Linked DNA regions of Homo sapiens: region 2 is linked to region 1. The links are contacts of gene promoters, found by promoter capture Hi-C in blood cells and fetal thymus (Javierre and others, 2016). All regions are on one chromosome and are shown on one strand. Each heading gives the region's core, a stretch centred on a gene start or on the middle of the fragment in contact. The rest is flanking DNA. Distances are from core to core; before and after follow the strand shown. Region 1 holds the start of CARMIL2 (capping protein regulator and myosin 1 linker 2). Region 2 holds the start of RIPOR1 (RHO family interacting cell polarization regulator 1).

Evidence for each region. Contacts are between HindIII fragments. The CHiCAGO score rates a contact against its expected background, and 5 or more counts as called.
Region 2: a contact is called between the fragment with the promoter of RIPOR1 here and the fragment with the promoter of CARMIL2 in region 1, in 10 of 17 cell types (endothelial precursors, naive B cells, megakaryocytes and 7 more). The highest score is 9.5, in endothelial precursors.

What each region holds. Positions count from the first base shown.
Region 1 is chr16:67,643,530-67,646,527 of GRCh38, reverse strand. It overlaps CARMIL2 (capping protein regulator and myosin 1 linker 2), which reads right to left and starts at 1,384. Exons shown (of 38, transcript NM_001013838.3): 1 at 1,242-1,384; 2 at 897-988; 3 at 751-804; 4 at 448-510; 5 at 218-342; 6 at 11-102. The coding sequence starts at 1,281. RefSeq lists a silencer at 1,301-1,690. The HindIII fragment of the contact is 10,344 bases long and covers 1-2,998 here.
Region 2 is chr16:67,527,247-67,530,244 of GRCh38, reverse strand. RIPOR1 (RHO family interacting cell polarization regulator 1) reads right to left here and starts at 1,416. Exons shown (of 22, transcript NM_024519.4): 1 at 1,331-1,416. LOC100505942 (a long non-coding RNA gene) reads left to right here and starts at 1,500. Exons shown (of 2, transcript NR_104656.1): 1 at 1,500-1,928. RefSeq lists silencers at 1-89, 1,090-1,319, 1,350-1,459. The HindIII fragment of the contact is 8,124 bases long and covers 1-2,998 here.

The sequences.
Region 1 (2,998 bases), core at 135-2,634:
TCACCCTTACCACAGGGGCTGCAGGGGTCAGTGGACTCCGAGGGGCTGCTTCTCTCCAGCCGAGCCAGCATGGAGGCTGGTGTGGGCCTCCGGAATAGCTTCCTGGTAGGGGGTTAAGGAGAAGGGGGCAAAGGACTTCCAGCCTCTGGGATGGGAAGCAGCCCTTCTCATGCACTCCCTCCTCCCCTGCCAGCCCCTCGAATTTGCCAGGCCTCACCCAAGGGTCGAGCGAGGGAAGACCTTCTTGATGGCTGCAGCCACGTGCTGGGCCAGCTGTTCCAGGGCGGCCACACCAGGAAACTCCAGGACCAGCTCACGCAGGGACTCCAGCTCAAAGGTGACCTAGGGAAGGGGCACTACTAGGCCTCGGCTCCACACATGGGCGCAGGTGATGGTGGTAGCATGAAGACCAGGCTGCAGGCCCAGGTAGGGTACTAGGTGTCTCACCTGAGGGGGTGTCTCCTGCAGCGCCATGGCCTGGACCTCCAGGTAGCTGAACGTGCAGTCCACCTAGAAAGGGCCTAGATCAGCTGGGACCAAGCCCCCAGCCCCGCCCTCATGGAAGTCCAGTCCTTTGGGCAGCCTGGGGCAGAGCCAGATCTGCCTGGACTCCCCTCCTGTCGGCTGCCCAGAGCCCAGTGCTGGTGCAAAGTCAGGGCCCACAAGGCCAAGAAGGACCACTCTGCAGATGCAGCCCCCTGCCAAGGTAGCTGCTGGCGGGCGGGGGTGTGGCCAGGCCCTGGGACTCACCCTCAGCGGGAGGCAGGTGGTGTGCAGCAGGTAGGCTCTCCATCGTAGCAGTGCCTGGGGAAAGACAGTCTGATATCCTGGGCAGAGCAAGAGGCTCTTTCTGTGGGGCCACAGCCGCCTCCCCGGCTCTGTCCCCTGCCCCATACCAGGACATGGTTTTGCACAGCACCCTCCCCGGGTAGCCAGGTTTTCAGCAGCAGCTCCACCTCTTTGGGCCACAGGAACCTGGTGATCTCGCCTGTGGAAGGGCAGCCTGCTGGGTGACTTCAGTCCTTGCACAGAAGCCACTGGTGCCCACAGTCTGTGCCAGGCTGGGGCCCTGGGGCTTATCTGCGGCCAGCGAGGAAGGAGGGGAGAGGATCTGGGGCGCCTGCCCTCCTGGGGAGCAGGGAGGACCTCTGACCAGGCCCTCTGGGGCGCTGGGTGGGCCTCTGATTTTGGGGCTGCACTACTTCCTCCCGGCCAAGAAGGCAGGAAGGGCCAGCGCTTACCTCGGAGCTCACAGGAGATGCCGTCGGGGGTCTGGGCCATGGGCCGGGCGGGCCGGGGAGGCCCAACGAGCTCCGGCGGGAAACAGCAGAGGACGAGCGCGCACACAGGAAGCCTGGGGCCCAGACCCGCACGGCAGCCACCTGCTCCTCCGGCGGCGGAAGGTGCGCGCCGCTTCCTGCCAGGCCGCCCCCGGCCCGGCCCCTCCCCGCCCCGGCCTCGCGGCTCGAGAGCTTGCCCGGGAGCGGGGTTGTGGGAGGGGGGCCGAGTCCCACCTGCCCGCCCGCCCCGTCGCCCAGGAGCTTCTCCGCCAGGGTAGACGTCGGGGTGGGCAGTGGCGTGGCCGGGAGGGTCGCGGGTGTGGCGGGCCTCCAGCGGGTCCTTGCCCCCGGCTTCCACCCCGCCCCGCAGTCCCTGCCGCGAACACCAGGGGACGCTGCCTGCCTGGGGATCCCCGCGGCCCACCGGGGCTGGTCCCCTCCAAAGCCCAGGCTGCGGAGGTGGACGAGGCGCCTGGCAGAAGGGGGACTGTTCAGCAAGGAGCGCCCGAATTCTGCCAACACCGGAGGTCCTGCCCGTTGCTCCGAACCTGGAGTCCGTGACCCTGTTAGGGATCCAAGAGATTTTGAATGGGTGGGAAAAAATGTCAGATGGGGCCAGGCGCGGTGGCTCACGCCTGTAATCCCAGCACTTTGGAAGGCCGAGGAAGGAGGAACGCTTGAGCCAAAGAGTTCGAGACCAAGCTGGGCAACATAGGGAGACCCTGTCTCTGCAAAATAATTTACAAAATTAGACGGCGTGATGGCGTGTGTCTGTAATCCTAGCTACTTGGGAGGCTGAGGTGGGAGGATCACTTGAGCTTGGGAGGCAGAGTTTGCAGTGAGCGGAGATCGCACCACTGTACTCCAGCCTGGGTGACAAAGCCAGGTCCTGTCTAAAAAAAAAAAAAAAAAACAGCCTGATGGGTCCAGACGCCCTTCCTTGCCGCAGAGGTGGGGTCAGGGCCGAAGGTGAGGGTGTACCCGGAGCCTTCGGGGGGAAGCCTGGGGCTAAGGTGAGCCCTGAACCCCAAGCACTTCATAGAGGGCCGGAGTGAGTCGTCCAGGTACATGAGGGTCTTCTTGTGTCTGCCTTCTCCCCAGGCTGGAGAGAGTTTGGGAGGGGGCAGCCAGAGAGAGAGAAATAAGCCAGTGTCTCCAGGGCTGAGAGGGGTCAGACAGTCATAGGGTGGGGCCTGGTAGCCTGTTGCCCTCTCAAAGACCAGGACCTAGATTCTGGAAAGTTCACAGGAAGAGACTGCATTTTTTTTCTTCTATTACAATCTAAACTCCACTTAAGCGGTAAGGAACAGCAGTCTACCCTGCCCATAGCTCAGCAAGGTGGAGGTGAAATGACAGCTAAGGGTGACAAGGAGGAGTCAGCTGCAGAAGATGCAGCACAGAGAGTTCCTGCTGCCTCCCCGATTGAAGAGACATACTTGGTTTGTTTGTTGGTTTTGAGATAGAGTCTTGCTCTGTGGTCCAGGCTGGAGTGCAGTGGCACAATCTTGGCTCACTGCAGCCTCCGCCTCCCAGGTTCCAGCAATTCTCCTGCCTCAGTCTCCCGAGTAGCTGGGATTACAGGTGCCCACCACCATGCCTGGGCTAATTATTATTATTATTATTATCATTATTATTATTATTATTTTAGACAGAGCTTCGCTCTTGTTGCCCAGGCTGGAGTGCAGTAGGGCGATCTTGGTTCACTGCAGCCTCCGCCT
Region 2 (2,998 bases), core at 167-2,666, 120 kb after region 1:
GCCGGGCCTGGCCAGGGCTGAGTCCGAGCGGCGACGCAGAGGGGCCGCCGTGACTCACCCGCGCCCTCCCCGCCCGCTTCTCTCAAGCGGGACCCAGCCCAGAGTCCTGAGTCCTCCCCTCACCCGCACCCAAACCCAGACCCCTGGGGCGGCTCACCTTGCTCCTCTCTCCCGCCGCAGTCACAGGACCCAAGCCGGAGAGGGCGGTGGAAGAAGGAGCTATGCCAGTCCTCCTTGTCCCGCTGGAGTATTTTGTACCTCAGCCCCCAATTATCATTCCTCTCCTCCCTCCAATACCACGGAGGTGGGTGTCGCAGGGGCAAGGACTCAGATCTAATCCTCGCTTCTCCCAAACCAGCTGTGTGACCTTGAGAATACTACTAACCTCTCTGGGCCTGTTTCTGCATCTGCCAGATGGTCATAACCCTCCTCAGATGCTGTGCGTTGGCCGAATGCGGCAGGCCCAGGGCGCGGCCCCGCAGACTGCAGCCAGGGCACAAGTATTGTTACACGAGGCTGCGCACAGTAGGTGCTGGGGCGGCCAGCCTGGACACACGTTAGAACTGGCTGGGGAGGGTCTGTAGGGGAGGCCGGACTCAGGGCTCACCCTGGAGAGGAGGACAAAGGGTGCTGAATCTGGACTGAATCCGACCTCTAGCCCTGGTGAGCAGCCCCTTGCCCAAACCAGTTCTGCAGAGAGCCCAGGCCCGGCTGTTGCAGGAACCTTGCGCCAACCTCCATTTCCAGGGAAAAGCTCCGTTCCCCGACAAGGACGATCCTCTCCGGCTTCGGCTACGCCAGGTTTGGGCGGAGAGCCCGGCTCCAGCCCAGGCTCGGTCACCTCGGGGCCGGCCACAAAGCCGCTTAGGCCGGCCCCTAGAGCTAGGAGGATTAGCTCAGCTCCTAGGCCGGCCCGCACCCTTCGTCGCCCCCTCCCCATTTCCAGCCCAGCCTCCCCTGCGGCGAAGGCAGCAAGGGCTCCCAGGGAGCGCGCGTGCCAGGGCCCAGGCTGGCGCCTTGAGCCCGCTCTCTGGCCTGGCCCATCCCAGCGCCCCGGGGCACCGGCCGCCAGGGCCTTGCCGTGGGAGGAAGGCAGCAGCGCCAGGCTCTGCAGGCCCGGAGGCGGCGGCTTTTGTGGGAGAAGCTGCGTTCTCCACGCCCGGGGGGAGGGGAGGAAAGACAAGGCGCGGCCGGGGTCCGGGAGATGGGGTGAGGCGGGACAGAGCCGCAGATCCCGGACCCACCGGGCGGCGCCGGCGGGGGGGCACCAGAACCTCCGCGCCTGCTCCCCGCCCGGCCTGCAGCCCCGGAAACGGCGCGGGACACTCACATGGCTGCGCTGGGCTGCGCGGACCTCGCGCTGTCCTTGCGCTCGGAGGTGCCCGGCCTGGTCGCGCCGCAGCTGCCGCTGTCGCCGCCGCAGGCGCCGGCCCCTCCCTCCGCCCGCCGCCCCGCCGCCCCTCCCCTGGCCCGCCGGGCCCCACCCCCTGCGCTCCCGCGGCTCCCGCACCCCTAGAGGCGCCCACGGCTCGCTCCGCCCTCTCGGATAACGGGGCAGGCCGGTGGCCCACGCAGCCCACCAGCTTGCAGGGAGGGCAGACCCTGGGGGATGTGAGGGAGGCTTTCTCACGCAGACCCTAAAACGGTGAGCGCCAGGGAGCCCCGCCTGCTTGTCCCCTCCCCAGATCCCTCGGGCTCTGGAGACCTTGCGGGCCCCCTGTCCGTGACCACCTGAAACAGGTCCTGGAGCTGCTACTGCTGGCTTAGGCTGGTTGGTGGAAAGGATCCAGGGCTGTTGTGAAGGCCTTGGGGAGTCCAGAAGCCGCCTGGCACCTTCTGGGTCCAGACGCTGCCCTTCAGCCCTGCCATTTCAGCCAGCCTCAGCGTCGCTGTAGAGGCAGGCCGCCCTTTCTGCCACTGTCTGGCTGGTAAGTCCAGGCTCATAGCCGGGTCATGCATTCCCCACTCATTGGGTACTGGTTTTCGGGCAGTCTTGGGGTGGGGACGCTGGCAGGGTCCGGGTACAGGGCCATGTGTTGGGCAACCCAGTCCTTTCCAAAGCCGGGGCTAGAATGCTGGCCCTCCACACAGTCGGTAAAGGTGGGGCTGAGAGTCGACCCCATGTTGGGGTCAAAGGGCCAGTTCCACTCCCCCGCTCCTCCCATCAATCAGACACCCCTGGCCCTTCCAACCTGGACACCCCTGAGGCTTCTCCAGGCCTTGCACTCCCGCAGCCCTCATGTATGTCAGACCTACCCAGGAATGGTTTCAGGGACAGTAAGAGGTCCCTGAATATCTGTACCCCGCCCCCACCAGTCCTGAGGGCTGTTTTTTTGTGTGTTTTGCTTGTTTGCTTGGTTTTGTTTGGTCGGGTTTTTTTTTTTTTTTTTTGAGACAGAGTGTCACTGTCGCCCAGGCTGGAATGCAGTGCAAGCTCCACCTCCCAGGTTCATGCCATTCTCCTGCCTCAGCCTCCCGAGTAGCTGGGACTACAGGCGCCCACACCACGCCCGGCTAATTTTTTGTATTTTTGGTAGAGATGGGGTTTCACCATGTTAGCCAGGATGGTCTCGATCTCCTGACCTCGTGATCTGCCCGCCTTGGCCTCCCAAAGTGCTGGGATTACAGGCATGAGCCACCGCGCCCAGCCTGTTTGGTCGGTTTTTTAGAGATGGGCTTTCTTCATGTTGCTCAGACTGGTCTCTAACTGGGCTCAAGCGATCCTCCCACCTTGGCCTCCCAAAGTACTGGGATTACAGGCTTGAGCCACCTCTGCCTCACAGTTCTCCACTCTCCAGCCCCTCCTCTTGGGCTTCCTTTGTAGTGCCCTTTTCTTTCTTTCTTTTTTGTTTTTTTTTGGGGGACGGAGTCTCCCTCTGTTGCCCAGGCTGGAGTATAGTGGCGTGATCTCGGCTCACTGCAACCTCCGCCTTCTAATTTCTATATTTTTGGTAGAGATGTCCCGGCTAATTTTTATATTTTTGGTAGAGATGGGGTT